Linked DNA regions of Homo sapiens: all the other regions are linked to region 2. The links are contacts of gene promoters, found by promoter capture Hi-C in blood cells and fetal thymus (Javierre and others, 2016). All regions are on one chromosome and are shown on one strand. Each heading gives the region's core, a stretch centred on a gene start or on the middle of the fragment in contact. The rest is flanking DNA. Distances are from core to core; before and after follow the strand shown. Region 1 holds the start of PIK3R5 (phosphoinositide-3-kinase regulatory subunit 5). Region 2 holds the start of RNF222 (ring finger protein 222). Region 3 overlaps PIK3R5 (phosphoinositide-3-kinase regulatory subunit 5).

Region 1 (3,615 bases), core at 251-2,750, 570 kb after region 2:
CATGGCAAAACCCTGCCTCTACAAAAAATACAAAAATTAGCTGGGCGCCGTGGTGCTGACCTGTAATCCCAGCTACTTGGGAGGCGGAGGCGGAGGATTGCTTGAGCCTGGGAATTTAAGGCTGCAGTGAGCCATGATCACGCCACTGCACTCCAGCCTGAGTGACAGAGCAAGACCCTGTCTCAATAATAATAATAATAATAATTCCACACAGCTCTATGGGTCAGTATGACAGCCCATTTTATGAATCAGGAGACTGAGGCTGGGTTGGGGGACAGTGTGATGCTGCAGGTCACACAGCTGGATCCGGTTGGAACTTGGGTCTCTTTTCCACATCATGCATGGTTCCCAAGCAACGGCTTCAGCATCATCACTTAAGGAGCTCATTCAAAGTTTTGAAAACTACAGATTCCAGATCCCATCCCTGGAAAGCCACGTTGTAGGGTTGGCTCCAAGAGAGCCCTACCTGCAGTCAGCTCTGGGAGCCAGTGCCTTACAGGTGGTCCTGAGGGCAGGAAGGAAAGTGTGGGGTGGATGAGAAGACACAGAAGGAAAACGAGGGTGTCAGTCCAGAGAGGACCTTGGAGGCAGGCTTGGCCTACTTTTAGCCCTTATTCTGCCTAAACCCACCCCTCCTCTCTACTCCGAGTCTTGTTAACTCGCTTTATACCACATCCTGCTGCTTTAACCTCGCCTTCCTTTTCCTTCTGAACAATCTCCTTCCTCCTACTGACCTGAACTTTTTGTGTATTTACCCCAGGCCGGGATGGGCCAGCACGCGCACATGCGCATGCCCACACACACACACACACACACACACACACGAGTCACGCGGGGATGTCCAGTGTGTAAACACAGATCCTCTGAGAGCAGAAAGCGTGCAGTTCTCTAGGACAGCAGCCGCGTCTGGGCCCAAGGCTGGCTAACTAGCAGGCTGAGTGAGGCTCGACGGAGGGCGCCTTACGCGGGCACTTCCATGACTCCCAGGTTCTGACGGCACAAGAGCCCTGATGCCCACGCTCACGGACAGTTCCCCGCTGGAGCGGGCAGGGGACCTGACCCTACGACACAGGGCGTCCTGTGTCAGAGGCAGGAGGCTGAGGACACAGCTGCGCAGAGCCGCCCAGCAGAGGTTACCCGGATAACGATAAGTGGTCCCCGCGACGCCCCTTAAGTCTCTGGGGTTATCTGGAGCGCAGGTTTGCAGACCCGCTGCCCCCGCGGTGGGCCAGGTCCACGGGGCCGGAAGATAGCAGGATCTGTCCAGCCCTCGGGCTGCGGCGGCTGCTCGCGGAGCCCACTCTCCCCGACGGTCCCCAGCTTGCTCCAGCTCTGCCTGGAGCTCCCATGCGTGCCCTCCGCATCCGCCCTGGCCGCCCAGTCACACACCTGCAGTCCCCGCCGGGCGCCGAGCCCCTCTCCAGCGGCGACTCCCTGCGATTCGGGTGACCGTCGGGACCACCGCGCCCCAGCTGGAGCCGCGCGGCGAGCCGCAGCATCTGCCCAGCCTGGGCTCCTCCGGCGGGCGGGGCGGAGCCTGTCAGGGGGCGGGGCCTAATGGGGCGGGGCTGACCGCGGAGCCGGCCTCTCCAGCCACCTGGCGGCCCGGCAGCGTCAGCCAGGTGCGCGCCCGGCCCCACATCCTCTGGGTCACGCCCCCGAGGCCGCAAGGCGTCTGAGAAGCAGCCCCGGCTCTGACCCGCCAGCCCTCGGAAGAAGCAGACCCTGGCCGGTCCATGGCAGTGGCCCGAGGGGCACCAGCGCGGAGCACCAGCGACCCCCAAGGAGTAAGGGGAGGTTAGGCCCCCGCGTCGGAAGCGCGGCTTTGGCCCCGCAGGAGGGCTGGGCGGAGCAGGGGGGCAGGTCTGGGGTAGGGGCTTAGGGGAAAGACGAGAAAGAGGAAGCTCCGACGAGCTGCTTCCTTCTCTCACTGCGACCCACTTCCTCTTCCTACTTCTATTTTCTTTCTTTTTTTTTTTTTTTTTTTTGAGATGGAGTCTCGCTCTGTCGCCAGGCTGGAGTGCAGTGGCACGATCTTGACTCCCCACAACCTCCGCCTCCCGGGTTCAAGCGATTCTCCTGCCTCAGCCTCCCGGGTAGCTGGGACTACAGGCGCGCGCCACCACGCCCAATTTTTTGTATTTTTACTAGAGACGGGGTTTCACCATGTTGGCCAGGATGGTCTCGATCTCTTGACCTCGTGATCCGCCCGCCTCGGCTTCCCAAAGTGCTGGGATTACAGGCGTGAGCCACTGCGCCCGGCCCCTACTTCTATTTTCTTTGGGTGCCCTTAACCCTTAAAATGCCTGCACTACTGCTGTGCAGACGGGCACCTTGACCCGCATCCTTCTGCAGGAACCTTCATAGAAATACCAGCCAGTCCCGGCGTTCAGCACTGCTGTTCCAGCCTCTGGCTGGACTTCCCGCCCTCCCTGGCCGGCACCAAGGCTACTGTCACCTGAGTGGTTTCCCCAGCCCCTGGGGAAGGGAGTGAGGGTGTGCGGGAGTTCCTGCCTCCAGGGTCAAGGCCCTCTTCTTGCCTCCCCCTTTTCTCCCCCAGACGACGTTGCAGATGATGCTCTACCAAGAGTTGGAAGGACTCCCCAGGGAATCCCACAAGACACTGCGCTTCCTATGCCTCCTTTCCCTCGTTTAAAAAATGGGGATAAGAAGGTTGGCTACTGCTCCGACAGCCCTCACAATGGAAGAGTAGCACTTCATTTGTGGGTTAACAAAGGGCAACGCTGAAATCTCCACTTCCACTATTGAATGGAACTGTGTCATAATATCTGTTAGAGGCGTGCAAACTCGGCCACAAGGTCATGGTCATACGTTATTGTTGGTCAAAAGCCGCAGCCCTACCTGAGGCTTTGAGAGATATGAACACCAATGACTTTTCTTTTCCTGACTCCCGAAATACCAAGAAAAAGCAACTTCCCCAAATGGACAGAAACAGAAAGTACCCTTGGTTGAACACAGAGGCCTGGTTCCAGCCATCGTTAGACGTGGGAAGGAACTCAGACCCCCTCTCCTACCTCATCCCCAACCCCTTCCCCACACGTCACCCTTTCACAGAGAAGGAACCAGAGCCACCAAGGGCTGAGAGAGGACTTGATAAGGATTCCAGTCTTCTGTCTCCCCTGTCCCCACTTTTTCCACCACAAAAATATGGACATTTGGAAGAAGAGGAGAAGAGGGAAGGTACACACTGTGCAAAGGAAGAAAATGGCAGAAATGCTCTGGAATCAGGAATTCAGGAGCAAGAATGACACTGTGTGCCAGATGGAAATGTTGGATTAGGAGAGCACTTGGAAAGGCAAATAATCTGCCAGAGAAATTATGGGATGCCTGCCTTCTGAAAATGGAGGAAAACTGCAAAAGAGTGGCTCATTGGTGCTCACTCCTAGGGCTCTGAGCATCCCAAGAAGCCAACTTGGTCCCATCGTACATCCCCTCAGAAGTAGGCATTCTCCTCTCCACCTACAGCTGTGGCCCAGATGTGGAGCCTGCATGTTATGCCACGCCGTCAACACTGAGTTCTGTCTGCGTCTCCCTGTCACAGATCTGATCAGCACCTGACACCTATCCATTCTCCATTTCCCACCTCCCCAAAGC
Region 2 (3,547 bases), core at 410-2,909:
GGGAAAAAGGACTTTAGAGATCACTTAGTTGAAGCTCCTAGTTTCAGAGATGAGCAGATCCATGTCTAGAGAGAGGGAAGTGAGTCACCTGAGGTGACCGGTGAAGGTGACGGAGAGGGAGTTAACCGAGACAGAGAAGATTCCGTAGATGGTAGAACATTGTTAGAATCAGCTGATAGATTGGGTGAGTAGGTATTAGCCAAGTTAGAAAGCACCGTCCTCCTTGAGACGAGCAGGGAAGGAGAAGGAGAGCCTCTACTTTTCATCCGAGTTAGAGGAAAAGTAAAAAGGACCCAGGGAGTGCAGAAGACATCCGAGGCCCCAATGATGGCCTCTCTGGGCAATCCTTCTCCCTTCCAACAATGGCCTCTCTGGGCAATCCTTCCCTCTTACAACGATGGCCTCTCCGGACAATCCTTCCCCCTTCCAATGATGGCCTCTCTGGACAGTCCTTCCCGCTTCCAACGATGGCCTCTCTGGGCAATCCTTCCCCCGTCCCGTGCTTCCGGAGAGCCACGCCGTCAACACCTGGACGATGCTACCTCCTTCCCCACCTTCTTGCCTCCCTTTCTCAGTCTTTCCCTGACCCCTCCCTCTGCCTCTCTCGCTTTCTGAATCCCATTCCATTCCCCATCCTTGAGTTCCTCTTATGGTATGATTCTGTTTGGATGCTGGGGTGAGGGAGAGGGCAACAGAAGAAATGCAAGGAACATACTCTAGTTTGAGCACAAACGAGTTGAAGAAGAATGCAGTAAGTGCCAAAGCATCCCTGTTGGTGCCTTAGGAAACTGAGGGGAGAGGAGGGCTGGAAAGTATTCCTAGGTGAAGTGGGACCAGTATTGAGCTAATAATAAATAATTATTATTATTTACAACAGCGACCATTTATTGAATCCTAATTATATGCTTGGCATTTTGCATCCCTTCCTCTTCTGATCCTGACAACAAGGCTGGGGCGTAGGGATTATCTTCATTTTACAGATAAGGGACCTGAGGCTCAGAGCTTAAGACTTTGTCTTCAGACTTTGGTCAAAGGAATAGAAGAAATAGCACTGTTAGAAAAGTGACTACCCAAAGTTCCTTCCTCTTTAGGTTTAGAGTGACCCTAAACAAGGATGCCCCTCTGGCCACCTGGGAGGCAGGGGGAAGGCAATGGCTGGCCCAAGGGAGCTGACCTTGGGAAGCCCCAGTACTGAGCCTCCCCCACAGCAGTAGCCCATCTCCGGAACAGAGTGTGGGGGCAGGTGTCCCCACCCCAGAGAAAACACCCCCCATCCCCACCTCAGCACAGGAGCCAGTGGGACAGAATGATACTTCCAGGCACCTGGGATTCCCTCCTGGAGCCCCAGTGCAAGGTCCTATAGCTTTAGCTGTGACTAGTTGCTCACCCACAGGTATCTCTTTCTCTCTCTCTCTCAATTTCTCTCTCTCTCATTCTCCTGCATCCTTCCAATGTTGGCAACCTTCCAACATTGCCAAGCTCCTTCCCCACGCCCATCCAGGCCCCTAGACTCACTTTAGCTGGGACCGGAGAGAGCAGCATCCACCTTCCCTCCTGGGGCCTCCAGCAGATCTGAGCCACCCCGAGGTGCTGAGCAGCAGCACGATCTCCTCCTGTTGCTGTTAGTGTGACCGCCACCGCCGAGGCAATTCCTAATGACAGAGCAGGTCGGGAGGACAGCGCGAGGAAGTGAATGTCGCCCAACCCGTTTGAGGCCAGGAGGCTTTGGCGTTGCCCAGGGGGTTGGCAGCTGCTGGAGTCAGGTGATCTTGCTGAGGATGCCAGGAGAGGAACCCCCAGCTTGAGGAGGAGCCCAGGGGTGGGTGCTCAGGAGAGTCAGAGGGTCTCACAGTGGAGGCAGTGACCCAGGACCCCTTTGACTGAGGCTCCCCAGGCATGGGTCTCCCTATCAATAGGAAAGTCACCCACACTGTCCTTCCCACCCTCCTGGACCCATTTCTGTGATCCCCATCTTCCCCCCACACCCCTATCCTCACACCATGCACAGGGTGAAGGGGTCAGTAGTAGATCAGCCTCGGGAAGTCTATGACACTCAGAGTCATATATTTGTGGGATCTGCCTGTGTGCATTTGTCATTCATGGAACACCCAAAGGCGCTTAGAACTCCAAAGACCCAGCACCACTGGCATAAAGAACGAGGCGAGTAAGACCAGTGAAGCAGGAATGCACACAGATATGGAAAGAAGTCCCCGGCATCATGATAAATGGAAGCAACTTTCAGAACAGCCTGTGTAATACAATTCTATTTATGAAGATAATAATACATGATCATATTCATAGAGGAAAAGCTGGAAGAAAACACATCAGACTGTTAATAGCAGTTATCTCTGGAGAGACTTTCTAAGTTTTATATTTCTGTGATGTTTGCATTTTCACCCTGAATGTATGTTTCTTTTGTGATTAGAGAAAAAGTCATCCACTGGGTATGGTGGCTCATGCCTGTAATCTCAGCACTTTGGGAGGTTGAGGCGGGCAGACTGCTTGAGGCCAGGAGTTCGAGACCAGCCTTGCCAACATGGTGAAACCCTGTTGCTACTAAAAATACAAAAATTAGCTGGGCAAGGTGGTGCAAGCCTGTAGTCTCAGCTACTCGGGAGGCTGAGGCACAAGAATTGCTTGAATCCAGAAGGTGGAGGTTGCAGTGAGTGAGCCAAGATTGCACCACTGCACTCCAGCCTGGATGACAGAGTGAGACTGTCTCAAAGAAAAAGAAAAAGTCATCAAGAATAATGGAGGAATGAAGTTCGGGGAACTGGAAATCATTTTGGAGGATTCCCTCCCAGTCCTCTCAGGAGGTCCCCAAGAAACCAGTTTTCTTCTGAAAAAGTAAGTTACTGGGTCCAAGGCACAGCCCAGCATGTGTGTGACCCCATAGGATGACACAGGATGACCCCTCTTCTGTCCGATCAGTCATGGCCCTGGCTTAATGGACACCTTGAAGCTGGTGGGGAGGACAGTCAGGCCAGTGCACTCGGCCACTTCACCATGGACAGAGATCCGTGAGTGCAAGCCGTCGTCACAGTCTCTCTTGTTCTTTCCCTGGGAGTTCCAGGTGGTCCTAGATTAGCAAATGAAAATGCAGTATGCCCAGGTAAATTAGAATTTCAGACAAACAACGAATGCTTTTTGGTATAAATATGTCCAGTACAATACAGTACAATATCTGGGATTTTTTTTTTTCTGAGACAGAGTCTCGATCTGTCACCCAGGCTGGAGTGCAGTGGCCACAAGCTCGGCTCACTGCAACCTCCACTTCCTGGGTTCAAGCGATTCTCCTGCCTCAGCCTCTCAAGTAGCTGGGGTTATAGGTGTGCACCACCACACCCCAGTAATTTTTTTGTATTTTTAGTAGAGATGGGGTTTCGCCATGTTGGCAAGGCTGGTTTTGAACTCCTGACTTTAGGTGATCTGCCCACCTTGGCCTCCCAAAGTGCTGGGATTACAGGCGTGAGCCACTGTGGCGGCCCTCTGGGACATATTTATACTAAAGAGTATTCCTTTTCTATCTGAGACTCAAATTTAAGTG
Region 3 (3,845 bases), core at 1,198-3,697, 520 kb after region 2:
GATTACAGGCGTGAGCCACCATGCCCGGCCCAGAGTGCTTTCTTAACACACACATCTCACCTGCCCAACTCTTGATGTCTTCAGAACTAGGCCAAGAAATAAAACACCTCCTGCATGATTCTGACGCACAGTTAGACTTGGAAAGTCATGCTTTTTATTTTACACACACATGCATACACACACACATTTGACTCTAAGACTGGGAAGGCACCTTAGGTACCATTTAGTACAACATTCCCACTCTACAGATATGAAAACAAAGGCTCTGAGTGGTGAAGGGACTTGCCCAGATCAGACGGCAGTAAATCTGTAAGTAGAATCTGAGCCTGGAACGAAGGATAATCATGCATCCCTCTGCATAGATGAGGATCGCACTCTCCTTGCTGCCCAGCAGTGAGTGACTTCAGCTGCTCTCCTCAAGGCTATTTTTGGAATCCCTTTTCAAATTTCTTCCAGAGTTATTGGTCTGTTCAGGTATTGAACTTTATGTGTCAACTTTGCAAATTTAGGTTTTCTGACAATATCATTCACTTTAATCAAGATTTTAAAGTTAATTAGCAAGAATCAGAAATTCCTATATAATTTTTACAATTACTTCTGTAATTTTAGCCCTTCTTTTAACGTAACTTGTTTTCTTTTAAAATACAGGTCCATATGTATATTAAGTATTTTTTTTTCTTTTTTCTTTTTCTTTTTTTTTTTTTTGAGATGGAGTTTCGCTCTAGTTGCCCAGGCTGGAGTGCAATGGCGCAATCTTGGCTCACTGCAACCTCTGCCTCCCAGGTTCAAGCTATCCTCCTGCCTCAGCCTCCTGAGTAGCTGGGATTACAGGCATGCATCACCACGGCTGGCTAATTTTTGTACTTTTAGTAGAGACGGGTTTCACCATGTTGGTCAGGTTGGTCTCAAACTCCTGACCTCAGGTGATCCACCCGCCTCAGCCTCCCAAAGTGCTGGGATTACAGGCATGAGCCACTGCACCCGGCCTGTATTAAATATTTTATACTACTTCATAGTTCTTTCAATGTTTTTGACATTTACATTAAATGTAATAACTGTGATAACAGCAGTATTTTTGGACAGTGGCTTTAAGTTTCATTTATTTTATTACTCACTGTTTTGTTTTGTACCCTACCATTCCTACTTATAAGTCCTTTATTTTGGTTCATGTCTTGCTCACTCAAGTATTTCGAGTAGTTTCAGGACAGATATGTGGGTGAGGTACTTTCTGAGACTTTACATGTCATATGTCATTCATTCTGGCTCATGAATTATAGCTTTGCCAATTATAGAATTGGCATAATTCATAATTTTTCACCCTCGAAATGTTCATAGAAACCCAAGAAAATCAACTGAAAAATGGTCATACCAAAGAACAGAGTTAGGTAAAGTGGTTAGGCACAAATTAATATAGAAATCAATATTATCTAACTATGCAAATAAATTATGTTGGGGAAACAAGATTCCACTTCTAACAGCAACAAAAGTAATACAAATTTTTTTAAAAACTTTAAAAATATGCAATATTTTTATAAAGAAAATGTTTGAGGGACACGAAAAAGCAAAAGTAAATGGAAATACATATTCTGGTGTTAGGAAGATTCAATACCATAAAAAATTAATTCAAAAAGGATCAAAGATCTAAATGTAAAGTGCTAAAACTATAAAACTCTTAGAAGAAAAATTGGGGGAAGCTTCATCACATTGGATTTGTCAAAGATTTCTTGGATATAACACAAAAAGCACAGGCAACAAAAGAAAAAATAGTTAAATATCAAAATTTAAAACTCTGTGCATTAAAGGATACAATCAACAGAGTGAAAAGGCAAGCCATGTTATGGAAGAAAATATTTGCAAATCGTATATCTGATTAAGGGCTACCATCTTGAATATATAAAGAACTCCTGTATAACTCAACAACAAAAACAAACCACCCGATTTGTTCATTCTCCATGAGTTTCAGCCTGGAGAATAGGAAAGAAGGAGGGAAGGAGGGAAGGTGGGAGGGTGGGAGAGAAGGAGGGAGGGAGGGAGGAAGAAAAGGAGGAAGGTAATTATTGAGTGGCTGATCTGTGTCAGGTACTATGTTGGGCGCTTTCACTTAGTTTGATAATCATAATTGATTATCAAATTGATTATCAAATTATCAATCCCCATTGTCTTGGGAATTAACATTCAGTTAATCCCCAAGACATTGATTACTTAGTTTGATAATCATAATCACCCTGTGACATTATCATAATTATTCACATTTCCTGCAGCTCAGGGAGGGTAAGCCATTTATTCACTCAAGTTCCTATGGTCACAATTCCTATGGCCCGAGCTTGAAGTCTGTGCAAAGTTGGCGTGACTCTCAAAGCCCATGTTCTTTCCTATGTCGTGTTCATAGGAAGTCATTTCTACTGGTTTCTAGACACTTAAAGGGCTGAGTGTACTGTTTCGTCTCAGTGTTGTAATTTGAGGCTTCCAGGGAAGACGTCTTGCATAAAAATTGGCTGAGTTTCCATTGTTGGTGATTCATTCTCCTTGGGTTAGGGCTGTTCACTTCCTCTGTCCTAGCTTATTTTTCAAGATGTAAGATTCTTGGAGGATGATTTAGCCACCAGATGAGTCTGTTACAGCAGTGACGGTAGCTAGTGGGCAGGAGAAGGACTCTGGGGCCAGGAGAGGGAGGAAATGTGAAAAGGTAGGTGGACATGGTGTGGAGGTCCAGGGAAGGCAGAAGATGAAGTAGAGATGTACCAAAAGAAAGAAACACTGAAGAAGCAGAGGCAAGACTGCCCACTTCCCCCCATCTTTGCTCAAGCCCTTCTTTACCAAGGAAGGGGCACAGGAATGCCTGGGAAGACCACAGTTGTGGTCAAGACCAAGAAGAAATGGGATGAGGATGAAGGAGGGGAAGGAGAAAGATGCTAACGTGTACACAGCACTGACCCTGGGCCAGATACCATGCTTAGGGCTTGAAGCACATGATCTCATTTATTTTGAGCCACTCTAGGACACTCTGAACTTGCAGAGATGAGGAAGTTCAGCTCCTGTTGGCTAAAAGACTTTCCCAAGGACATACGGATAGCACAGAGAGGATTCGAACTAAGGTCTCTCTGGTCCACTCTACCCAGGTACAGTACCGAAAAGACAACAGGATGTACAATGTCACCTTTTCATATAATAATTTTAATAATAGCAGCTAATAGGAATTGAAAGCTTACTATGTGGCAGGCACCGTTCTAGGTGTTTCTATGAATTAAGTCATTAAATCCATGTGAGGTAGACACTCCTTACCCCCATTTTACAGATGAGGAGACTGCGGTACAGAGTATTCTCTCAGCTGGTAAATGAAGTATGCTGTAGGCAATTTAGCTTCCCCATGCAAGTAAGAGCAGCTATACTGGAGCCAGGGGTGGGCAAACTGAAATTACTGCCAAGCTGGGAAACCAGAGGAAGACTATAACAATAAAACAAGCAATAAGCTCCAGGCAGCAACCGAATTCTTTGGGCACCTGGGCTAAACCTTGGGCACTTACACGGGAGACTGTTTAATCCTACCACCTTTAAATATGGAGCCCATCTTAATGGTTAGACAATGTGCACAGGAGAATAAAGCAGCAAATGAATGTAAATGTAAAAACTCAAGAAAGGCCAATTACACATATATTGGCAGCTTTCTGGTTTTTCTGGATGTGGAAAAAGATTGCAGTTGTGACATTGCACCCTTCCCTTCCCTTCCCCTCCCCTCCCCTCCCCTCCCCTCCCCTTCCCTTCCCTTTTCAAGACAGGGTCTTGCTCTGCCTCCCAGGCCAGAGCGCAGTGGTGTGATCATACCTCACTGCAGCCTTCTGGGTGTG

Evidence for each region. The method cuts DNA at HindIII sites, captures the fragments that hold promoters and counts their contacts. A CHiCAGO score of 5 or more calls a contact.
Region 1: a contact is called between the fragment with the promoter of PIK3R5 here and the fragment with the promoter of RNF222 in region 2, in 12 of 17 cell types (total CD4 T cells, naive CD4 T cells, naive B cells and 9 more). The highest score is 16.2, in total CD4 T cells.
Region 3: a fragment that was not itself captured here is called in contact with the fragment with the promoter of RNF222 in region 2 in 1 of 17 cell types (neutrophils); the score reaches 5.0 in neutrophils.

The regions. Positions count from the first base shown.
Region 1 is chr17:8,964,207-8,967,821 of GRCh38, forward strand. It overlaps PIK3R5 (phosphoinositide-3-kinase regulatory subunit 5), which reads right to left and starts at 1,501. Exons shown (of 19, transcript NM_001142633.3): 1 at 1,390-1,501. It overlaps PIK3R5-DT (PIK3R5 divergent transcript), which reads left to right and starts at 1,641. Exons shown (of 3, transcript NR_184080.1): 1 at 1,641-1,797; 2 at 2,561-3,615. RefSeq lists silencers at 1,425-1,744, 1,815-1,914. The HindIII fragment of the contact is 6,543 bases long and covers 1-3,615 here.
Region 2 is chr17:8,396,168-8,399,714 of GRCh38, forward strand. It overlaps RNF222 (ring finger protein 222), which reads right to left and starts at 1,660. Exons shown (of 3, transcript NM_001146684.3): 1 at 1,528-1,660. The HindIII fragment of the contact is 4,699 bases long and covers 1-3,547 here.
Region 3 is chr17:8,920,154-8,923,998 of GRCh38, forward strand. The region is part of intron 1 of PIK3R5 (phosphoinositide-3-kinase regulatory subunit 5); the gene reads right to left. Among named protein-coding and RNA genes, the nearest start is that of PIK3R5, 44 kb to the right of the region's middle. The HindIII fragment of the contact is 1,510 bases long and covers 1,693-3,202 here.